Linked DNA regions of Homo sapiens: region 2 is linked to region 1. The links are contacts of gene promoters, found by promoter capture Hi-C in human tissues and cell types (Jung and others, 2019). All regions are on one chromosome and are shown on one strand. Each heading gives the region's core, a stretch centred on a gene start or on the middle of the fragment in contact. The rest is flanking DNA. Distances are from core to core; before and after follow the strand shown.

Evidence for each region. The method cuts DNA at HindIII sites, captures the fragments that hold promoters and counts their contacts. A contact is called where the count stands out against the background at its distance.
Region 2: a fragment that was not itself captured here is called in contact with the fragment with the promoter of WBP2 in region 1 in 1 of the 25 tissues and cell types used here (dorsolateral prefrontal cortex).

What each region holds. Positions count from the first base shown.
Region 1 is chr17:75,851,382-75,856,687 of GRCh38, forward strand. It overlaps WBP2 (WW domain binding protein 2), which reads right to left and starts at 3,954. Exons shown (of 8, transcript NM_012478.4): 1 at 3,858-3,954; 2 at 187-295. The coding sequence starts at 3,916. RefSeq lists enhancers at 4,040-4,169, 4,778-5,306 and a silencer at 4,540-4,709. The HindIII fragment of the contact is 6,498 bases long and covers 735-5,306 here.
Region 2 is chr17:76,212,081-76,217,937 of GRCh38, forward strand. RNF157 (ring finger protein 157) reads right to left here. Exons shown (of 19, transcript NM_052916.3): 2 at 284-402. Among named protein-coding and RNA genes, the nearest start is that of RNF157, 25 kb to the right of the region's middle. The HindIII fragment of the contact is 4,066 bases long and covers 1,764-5,829 here.

The DNA of each region.
Region 1 (5,306 bases), core at 2,704-5,203:
ACAAAGAGCCTGGTGATTCTGGAATCCAGGAGCATGTGACAGAGAAACAGGCAGAGTGAAGCACTAACACTCACCAGGATTCAGAGGCCACCTGACTCATGAGGCTGAGGCAGACCTGAGACTAAGACTCACGTCACCTCCAACAGCAACAAGCCTCTCAACCAACTGCCCTGCTGTGCAACTCACCCGGTAAGGGGTAAGGTAGACAGTGCCTTTCTTGGTCCCTTTGAAGGCTTCTGGCACGTTCTTCATGTCATTGAATGTGAGTTCCACGTGATCATAGGACATTAGGATGCTGTGATGAGAAAAGAGGAAAAGCCTCAATGAGACAGTATGGAGACGCGACGTCACCCAGACACTGGGCCTTTCTCCCAAGCAGCTGCCCGGCACGTCAGCTCTCATAACCTCTCAATAGTGCGGCATTAAAACTATTCATAGGGCTGGGCGCGGTGGCTCACGCCCGTAATCCCAGCACTTTGGGAGGCCGAGGCGAGCGGATGACCCCTGGTCAGGAGTTTGAGACCAGCCTGGCCAACATGGTGAAACCCCATCTCTACTAAAAATACAAAAAAATTAGCCAGGCACCGTGGCGGGCACCTGTAATCCCAGCTAGTCAGGAGGCTGAGGCGGGAGAATCGCTTGAACCCAGGAGGCAGAGGTTGCAGTGAGCTGAGATGGCGCCACTGAACTCCAGCCTGGGCAACAAGAGAGAAGCTCTGTCTCAAAAACAAATAAATAAATAAAGCCATTCATAGGGCCAGGCGCAGTGGCCCACACCTGTAATCCCAGCACTTTGGGAGGCTGAGGCGGGTGAATCGCTTGAGCCTAGGAGTTTGAGACCAGCCTGGGCAACATGGTGAGACCTCATCTCTACAAAAAAACTAAAAACCAACAAAAAAACCCATTAATATAGCCATGGAAGAAATGAGCAGGTTGGGGGTTCTGTAAAATTTCCCAAACCCCGCTTATAAAGCCCCCAAATGATCAACATGGTAGCAGAGCTACAGGGCTCTGAAGAGGCCATCATCCCTCAAGCAAGTTAGATAATCTGGCTTAACTCTTCTATTTTCTTTATTTTTTTTTTTTTTTTTTGAGACGGAGTCTCACTCTGTCACCCAGGCTGGCGTGCAGTGGCGTGATCTCGGCTCACTGCAAGCTCCGCCTCCTGGGTTCATGCCATTCTCCTGCCTCAGTCTCCCAAGTAGCTGGGACTACAGGCGCCCGCCACCACGACTGGCTAATTTTTTGTATTTTTAGTAGAGACGGGGTTTCACCGTGTTAGCCAGGATGGTCTCGATCTCCTGACTTCGTGATCCACCTGCCTCGGCCTCCCAAAGTGCAGGGATTACAGGCGTGAGCCACTGCGCCCGGCCAACTCTTCTATTTTCTTTTAAGTCCTTGTGATAGATGTTCTGTTTTTGCTGGTTTGTTTTTCAAGCCTAAAATATAAACATGTCTAAGAGATGACTGTACAGATCACAATAGGACGTCCTTCGGGGTTCTTTTAAACCTGGGTTCTTAAGCGGGGTTTGCAGGAAAGTCCATGAAGCCCTTGAGATGATCACGTATGTCATATGTGCATTTTTCTGGGAGGAGAGTCCACAGCTTTCATCATTGTCAAAGGAGTTCACGACTTGAAGAGTAACGTTCACTATTTTAATTATAATTTTTTATTTTTTTGAGACGGAGTTTCACTCTTGTTGCCCAGGCTGCAGTGCAACATAGCGTGATCTCAGCTCACTGCAACCTCCACCTCCTGCGTTCAAGCGATTCTCCTGTCTCAGCCTTCCAAGTAGCTGGGATTACAGGCATGCGCCACCACGCCTGGCTAATTTTTTGTGTTTAGTAGAGACGAGGTTTTACCATGTTGGTCAGGCGGGTTTCAAACTCCTGACCTCAAGTGATCCACCCACCTCAGCCTCCCAAAGTGCTGGGATTACAGGCGTGAGCCACCATGCCCAGCCTAATTATCAAATTTTGGACACTGGACTTAACACTTCAATTGTTATAGATACAACTTTTTCAGACAGCAGGCTGAAGCACTTTCTAAAACAGCAGGCTGAAGGCACACCTTACTTAGCAGGACTGAGCCCTAAGCCAGGTAGAAGGCCGAGCAGGATAGATACATTCTTGTCTCAGAAAGTTCCACAGAGACAGAAAGAAAAACAGTCCCCAGAGATGTTGCCAAATGGCACGAAAAGCTGGCCAGGCCTGGGAACTGACTCACACACAGAGATGCAACAAAACAGTGTGAGGTGTCTCTGATTACATGATAAAAAGGTTCACACGGTTCTGTTTGTCTTCTGCCTCCCCCCATATATCACAACTTTCTCTGACTGGGGAAGGGTAAGTGGGAAACAACTGGTATAAGCAAAGGAAAATGGCTGGGCGCGGTGGCTCACTCCTGTAATCCCAATACTTTGGGAGGCCGAGGAGGGTGGATCACGAGGTCAGGAGTTCGAGACCAGCCTGCCCAACATGGTGAAACCCTATGTCTACTAAAAATACAAAAAATTAGCTGGGTGTAGTGGCGGGTGCCTGTAATGCCAACTACTGGGGAGGCTGAGGCAGGATAATCGCTTGAACCCAGGAGGCGGAGGTTGCAGTGAGCTGAGATCGTGCCACTGCACTCCAGCCTGGGCGACAGAGCAAGCCTCCATCTAAAAAAAAAAAAAAAAAAAAAAAAAAAAGAGAAGAGAAGTACTGCTCAGAGAAAAGAAGGAATTACCAGCAACAGGCTGGGCCCATGAAACTCTGAGCGGGTAAGATAGAGGGAAAGTGAGCATGCTGGGTCACTCTAGGCATTTTCCTCTGACTCATCAAACATTCCCAAGTCACAGGGCAGCTGGATGCTGGCCTTAGCTGGGTACAGGGCTCTGACTCCACGATGTCTCCTTTGGGGACTCAGGTGCCTCCTAAGCTCCTTCTGCCTTCAAGAGGCAATTCAGGGTCGGCATAGTTCAACCCAGGGCTGGCTGGTCTGATTTTCAATACCCAAGGAACAAAAGGAGACAGAGGCCATTTAAGGCTTCTCTTGGCAGAGACTGGAGGAGAGACAGGATGCAATGAGCAAGGGGTGGGGAGGATGGAGTGGAAAGAACCTTGAATTAGGAGAGCTCTGCCTTCCGAGGTGACCCAAACCAACAGGCATTCAAGAGAGAGGCAAGGGAATGACTACGGACCCACACAGTGCCAGGAACTGTTAGACACCTGACAAACGTCATCTGTTTAATTTCACCTCTGGGACCTCAGTTTTTTACCGGGAACCTGAACAGTTCTGGAACATACTGGAAGCCTGTATGCTGGTGGTTAATCCTATTAACTTTGGAGTCAAGACTCCTTTCCTGGAATTACCACCTCTGTTACTTACACAGTTGCGATCTCGGGCAAGTTACTTAACCTTTCTGCCCTCCACTTTCCCTACCTGTGAAATGTGGACAGTAGTAGATTATACTGCACAGAATTTATTAAATAAGGTAGAAAAGGCGCAGAGCCTGACACGTAGTAACGTTGTAGACATCCAATAAGTGACAATTATTTTTGTTTGGGGCTCCTCCCAGCTACTGAAATCACAAGTCTGGGAAGGGGTTCAAGAATCACCCCTAGGCCCCACCGGGGGCCCCATACCAGGTCCCCATGCAGACGTCCCACCCCCGCCTCCCAGCTGATCACAACCTCCCGGGCTCTCCCCCACGGCCCACCCACCTTCCTCCAACCCCGCCCCCAGCCGTTCCCCACCAACCTCACTCCATCAGTGCTCCCTCTTCAGGGGCTTATTCCCCACCACCCACCACCCACCGCCCACTTCCTCGACACCCGAACTTTGGTCCTCCAGGATCCTTCCGCAGTGTTTTCACCTCTCGGTGTTATTGACGATCACTCCGCCGCCCTCCGAGTGATTCTTGTTGAGCGCCATAGTCTCTCCAACAGGGGTCCCGAGACTCAAAACGCAATGAGCTTGCGCCCCTCTTCGCCCCGCCCCTAGTGGCGTCTTCTTATTAGAGTCAGCCAATCAAAGCTCGAGTGCGGAGGCTGGCCCAAACACCTGACCCGAACGTCACGTGGTAATAGTTTACTCCCTCCTTCCAGTTCCTCCTGCGCAACAAACAAGATGAAGACTACAATTCCCAGCAGGCAACGCCCCCGCAGCCTCGGCCTGTCCCTATGCTGGAGGAAGGATGCATTCTGGAACTTGTAGTCTCCTGGATCATAGGCCTGAATTGGTTCCACATTTTGCGTAACCAATCGGCTTGTGCCATCCCCACCCCGCCTCTTCAGCCGGACGGAAATAAACAGTTCCGCTCCTGGCAGGGGCGCGATCTTGGGGACTCCGGCAGCGCGTTAAGGGAAGTCCTGCTGGTCGAATGCGACCTGGACATGGCGTGGGAGCGCCGAGCTGTCCCCTTGTGGATGGGGAGCTTTCGTTCACTCAGCAGACGTTTATGGGGCGCATGCGTGACTCTGGGGCGTTTAGCTGAGCCGGAGGCCCCGGCTCTTGGGGACGCGGTGGGCTGGCGGCGTCGGATCACCCCGCCATCCATCTCACCACTCCCAGCGCTGAGCCCGGGGGGCGGGGAGAGTCCCTCATGGGAAGGGGAGGCCGTGTGCCCCGCCTGGCTCCCACCACGTTCGCAGGCCGGCCGGGCGCCCCTCGCAGCCCCCTCTCCGGCCTCGCGGTGGCGCCGCTCCCCCCTTAGCGCCCAGCGGGGTCCCGGCCGGAAGACTGAAGGCTGAGTGGGACTGGGCACGGCGCGAAACCGGCATCCTGATAACTAGGATTTACAGAATAAGGCTGACTCCTGTCAGCTCGTGACCCAGCCCTGGGCGTCCTCCACGGGGCAGCTGTCATTCCCTAACCGCCCCCCACCAAACCCCTGCACCTCCGAGCTGAATCCGTGAGGCGGAGAGAGGGGGCTGCACTTCCCACGTGGTAGTTCCGGTACTCGTTAATGTTAAGGAATTAGAGTTTGCTTTTCAGTAGACAGCTGCTTTCCTGACTGTGGTGGCCAACCTCTAGATCCACCTGCTTGACTTCGCTTTCCAGGGAGGTCTCCTATGTGAAGAAACAAAGCTGCCTCACTAGAAAAGATCAGGAAACAGCAGCGTTCTGTGAGGTCCTGTGCAATACCAGGTTGGACCTTGCGGGACAAGTACAGTGGGTTAAGGATAGTCATAATGAAATCTGCCCCAATGGTTAGATGTATTTTGGCGCCTGCAATCTCTGCAGTCTTTAAAAAGAATTAAGTCAGACTATGTGCTGATATGGGAAGATCATCAAGGGTTATTAAGCACAGAATGCTGTATAC
Region 2 (5,857 bases), core at 2,547-5,046, 360 kb after region 1:
GCCCTTGGAAAAGGGTTGCCTAAAGAGGTGACAGGGAGAGATCTGTCCTAGCTTAATTTGTGAGACTCATCCTCTCCCTCACAAGACTCCAGGAGCTCTTCCAGTCCTCTAGCAACAAGAGATCCCATACAACCAAGGAGGCTGCAGTTTGTCTTCTAGTGCATCTCTCTCAACTCAGACCAAGCTACAAACTGCTGAACAAGCAACTGCAAACTTATTTTTGTTACATTTTTTGAATTGGCCACTTAAGCTCCAAGTAGGAGTAAACTGATTACAGCCATACCACAACTGGTCTGTTCCCCAGAAAGTTCAGATCGCTGTTCTCTCCAAACAGGTAACCTTCAGGATGAGTTGAGTCAAACTTCTCTCCTCCCATAATGAAGTGGCTGGCAAAATAGCTTCCTAGAGAGGAACAAACAAAAAAAATCAAACAAGCAGAAAACAGTCAACCTAAATCTAGTAAAAAAAAAAAGCTGATTTTTAAAATGTTAACCTTTTGGGCTGTGCGTGGTGGCTCACACCTGTAATCCCAGCACTTTGGGAGGCTGAGGCAGACAGATCGCCTGAGATAAGGAGTTCGAGACCAGCCTGGCCAACATGGCAAAACCCTGTCTCTACTAAAAATGTAAAAATTAGCCGGGTGTGGTGGCACATGCCTGTAGTCCCAGCTACTCAGGAAGCTGAGGCAGGAGGATGGCTTGAACCCAGGAAACAGAAGTGCAGTGAGCCGAGATCCTAGCACTACACTCCAGTCTGGGCGACAGAGTGAGACTCTGTTTCAAAAAAACAAAAACAAAAAAGTTAACCCTCTGAATGAATAATTAGAGCAATTTCTAATCCCAGAGTGTTTTCTTTTCCTGATTTGGGACAATGGCACAAAATAAGTAAAATCATAGCAGGGAAAACCCCAGATACCAAACGTAGACTAGATCACTGTTTTCCTTTTAACATTCTTAACTGAATTCTTCTAATGATCTGTTTAAAATACCTCCAGCCAAAAGACCAAAAGGTTCTACAATGCACATTAATGATCATATATATTTTTTGGTTCCTGACTTTTGCCTTTAAACTTGAAGTAGTTATTCCATGTATTGAAGAATCTCAGCTACAGGTATCGGCATATACATACACTGTGATATTGTAAAATATATGTTTGATCTTCAACCCTATTTCCTGGAATGCAACTCTTAAAATCCTTGGAATATCCAGGCCGGCATGGTGGCTCATGCCTGTAATCCCAGCACTTTGGGAGGCTGAGGAGGGCGGATCACTTGAGGTCAGGAGTTAGAGACCAGCCTGGCCAACACGGTGAAACCCCATCTCTACTAAAAATACAAAAATTAGCCAGGCATGGTGGCATGCGCCTGAAGTCCCAGGTACTTGGGAGGCTGAGGCAGGAGAATCTCTCGAACCCGGGAGGCAGAGGTTGCAGTAAGCCAAGATCACACCACTACACTCCAGCCTAGGTGACAGAGCAAAACTCCATCTCAAAAAAAAAAAAAAAAAATGCTTGGAATATCCAAAGTGATGTCTTTTTTTTTTGTCTTTACATATGCTAATGAATTAACCACTGCCTGGCAGCCCCTAGGTAGCCTCAGGATGGCGGCTGGTCACTGGAAAGAAAAGGCAGGATTAGAGGGTGGGGACTTTCAGCCCATCCCCCAACCACTGAGGAAGGGAGAGGGGATGAAAGTTAAGTTGATCATCAATGTCCAATGATGTAATCAACCATGCTATGTAATGAAGCTTCTATAAATACCCAAAGGACTGGTTCAGAAAGCTTCCAAACAGGGGAACACTTACAGGTTTCTGGAGGGTAACATGCCCAGAGACGGCATAGAAGCTCTGTGCCCCTTCTCACATAACCTCGCCCTATGTATCTCTCTCTGTATCCTTTGTAATATCCTTGATAATAAACTCGTAAATGTGTTTCTCTAGTTCTGTGAGTCCCTCTAGCAAGTTAATCACACCCAAGGAGGGGGTTATGGGAACCCTGCTTTCTGGTTGGTTAGTTGGAAGCACAGGTAAAACAACCTGGGGCTTGCGATGGGCATCAGAAGTGGGGGGCAGTCTTGTGAGATTGCACCCTCAACCTGTGGGATGGGACACTATCTTCAAGTAGTATCAGAAGTGAAATGAATTGGAGGACACCCAGCTGGTGTCCTCTGCAGAACTGAGTGGTTGCTGGTGGAGAGAATCCCCACACATTTTGCTGACCAGAGGTCACAGAAGTTTTCTGTGCTGCTTGTGTTGTGAGTGTATAGGAGAAACTGAGTTTTTTTCCTATATCCGCAGACGCACACATTTCTTTGCCTAGATTTTCATAAGCCAGCTTATACCTACACACAGAAGTCTCAGTACCCACCCACCACTACTGCTATACCTCCATAACCTTCTATGATGAAGGTTCTTCACACTTTAACTTGCTGCAAACATTATTGTTTCACAGGAAAATACGAATTTAGATAATACAGTTATCCCTGGCTTTCTCTACCAATTACTACACAGACTATGGTGTAAAATAAGGGGACAATTTAATGCTATGAAAGAAGGCTACACACATACCCTCTCCACCTCAAATTCATTAACAGTGCTAATGGCCAGAACTGCTGGGACATCAGTCATGGCAGGGCCCCTTTGCCCCTTCTTAATCAGCCAGGAGGCAGAAATATTTTCAGTGCAATATAATAACCAAATGAAATCAGCAGTCAGGGGCCAAAATTCCCATCAGCCTCATCCGGACAAACCAAGGAACTGTGACAGGATATGATGGAACTGAGAAGTCACCAAAGGAGGCTTAGGTTATGCTGAAAATTACATCTGGGAATACATTTTAAGTTTGATGATTAAACGAATGCCGCTTACCTCTAATTTCTATTATCTAATTCTCCCATGAAGGTAAGCTGTCCAAAGTAAAGGACACATCCCATAATATACCTTTATCAACACTCTCATATACCCCATTTCTGAAATTAACACAAGGAACTTATTAAGTGGCAAAAGGCTTGCTTGTGTATAATACATTGAGGATATACACAAACTCCCTAAATCAGTTGCAATTTTTGTTGAAGATTTGTAGCAGGCAGGGTGTGATGGATCTTGCCTGTAATCCTAAAACTCTGGATGGCTGAGGCAGGAGAATTGCTTTAGGCCAGGAGTTGGAGACCAGCTTGGGCAACTTAGCAAGCTTAGCAAGACCTTGTCTCTACTAAAAACAAAACAAAAAATAAATAAAAATACAAAAATTAGTTGGGCATGGTAGCATGCGTCTGGAGTTCTAGCTACTCAGAAGGCTGACGCAGAAGGGTCGCTTGAGTTCAGGAGTTCAAGGTTGCAGCGAGCTATGATTGCCACTGCACTCCAGCCTGGGTGACAGAGTGAGACCCTCTCTAAGAAAAAAAAAAGAAAGAAAGAAAAAAGAAAAGAAAAGAAAAAAGGAAAAAAAGATTTATAGCAAACTAAAAAAAAAAAAAAAATGAGATTCAGTACTTTGAGCCTGTGGAGAAGCCATAGGAAGGAAGACAGAGAAGAAAATTCTAGCAAAAACTGAACCAAACATTCATTTTTAAAACTTTCTACACAAGGAGCTTTAGTCTAGAAACATCTATTAAATAAAACAATGTGGATAAAATCACTCACCACAAAGTGAGGCAACTATTGAATTAAACAAGCAGGAAAACATTCTTTGAGAGTAATAATGCAACCCAGATCAAAGCAATCACTGAGGAACTACTGAAAGTCACCCATTAAAACTTAAAAAGACAAAGGGCAGCCATCTGATACAGTGATACAACAGCAGAATTCATCATTTAGGAAAGCTTAATTATCAATTATTTATGTCTGGCACTTGCTAGCCCTATTTTCCAAGTGCATAATTTATGGAGAGGGGAGGTACCTAGTTGCCTTAAGTAGAAGCAGCAATCTCAAATAATTTAAGTCATTTACTGATGAACTTCAGCAAGATATATTTTCTATGCATCAGGAATTATACATTTATCATATATTAGGTAAAATTGGAAAAGTTAAAGATGTTACACAGATGGATGGCTTGCCCAAATCATGAAAAAAGAAAGGGAGAGAAGAGAGTTTGATGTCTGGAATTGTCTAGGTTGACCTCAGTGTGGGACCACTGAGTTTCCAGTACCTGTGAGATCTCAGGGGAGGGATCTGGGGCAGTAAAAATCCATGGATGATTGGCTTAGAGGTGGCCATGATTGAACCTAGCGAGAGAGGACCCCTAATGATTTGGGGGCTAAAGAGTTAAAGCAGGCAACAGGGTTCGATTAGAAATGCCCTTTTATGCCATAATATTAAAAGAAAAGAAATGACCACAAAAGATGTGTAGAGCTAATTGTAGTTTTGCCTTGCATTAAAATCAAGAATAGTCTGGGTGTGGTGGCTCACACCTGTAATCCTAGCACTTTGGGAGGCCAAGGTGAGAGGATCACTTGAGCCCAGGAGCTCAAGACCAGCCTAGGCAACATGGTGAGGCTCTGTCTCTGTATATTTAAAAATAATAATAATAATAATACTATGGTATATTCAGTCAGTAGAGTATTATGAAGCCTTTCAAAGTGGTGTTGTAAATCTATATCTACTGACATTAAAAATGTTCACAATATATTATAATTAGACCCTTGTCTCGACAAAAAATTAAAAAATTAGCTGGGTATGATGGCCCAAGCCTGTGGTCCCAGCTACTCAATAGGCTGAGGTGGGAGGATCACTTGAGCCCAGGAGGTCAGGCCTGCAGTGAGCCATGACTGCGCCATTACATTCCAGTCTGGGTAAAAGAGCAAGACCCTGTGTCAAAAAAAAACAAAAACAAAAACAAAAAACAAACAAACAAACAAAAAACCCCATAAAAGCTATATAAGCTGTATACTTATAACTGGGAATGATTTTCTCAAAATTACAAAGTTGGCAAAATTGTTCTTACTTTTACTTAAAATTAGCTTGAACACCTGTTCAATCACTCAATAATTCTTTAGCAATATTAATTTCTAAACTTTTGGTTATTAAGGGGAAGACGCATAAAATGTGCAAGATTGTATGAATTAAAAAGAGCTCCCCAAACCTTCATCTATTTTTTGTTTGTTTTTGTTTTTCTGTAGAGATGGAGTTTCACCATGTTGGCCAGGCTGGTCTCAAACTCCTGGGTCAAGAGACCTGCCCGCCTCAGCCTCCCAAAGTGTTGGGATTACAGGTGTGAGCCACCGAGCCCAGCCATCCTCATCTGTTAAAAGGAAAAATAAATTTACTTATTGGTATTTCATTTTACAACCAAAAATTTGCTTTTTCCTTTCTTTGAAATGAACCCCTCTAGCAGCTTGCTTTCATTTAGACAAATGAGAAAAGCAAATCAGCCTTTTTCAGACTGAATAAAGCTTTCTACTTGCTCAGTCTTTCTAGAGGGACAAATTGGTGCACAGCTATGTATAGCTACTAGATCATCAGATACCAACACCAAACACATCAACAGTCCCCAAACAAGATGACTTTTAGACAGCTTATGCATATTTTTACTTCTTAACACAATGAACTGTGCTTCAAAATCAGTGGTGGGGGAAAAGAACTCTACTAAAGTACTTCTTTGCCTATTTGTTACCAGGAGAAACACGTCACTCACAGATAAACTGCAGAACTCAACTAAAATACACCCTTGCCTATTTGCTAACGGGAAAAAAACATATGTCACTAGTAGATAAACTTCGAGTGTTTCATTATTAGTGAGCTATAATTTATTAATCAAAACTCATATTCAGAATTCTTTGCAGGCTTTAAAAAGTCACATCATACACATATCTCCAAGATTATACGTAAACCGTAAGGTATGAGTGGGAAGGAGAAAGGGGAA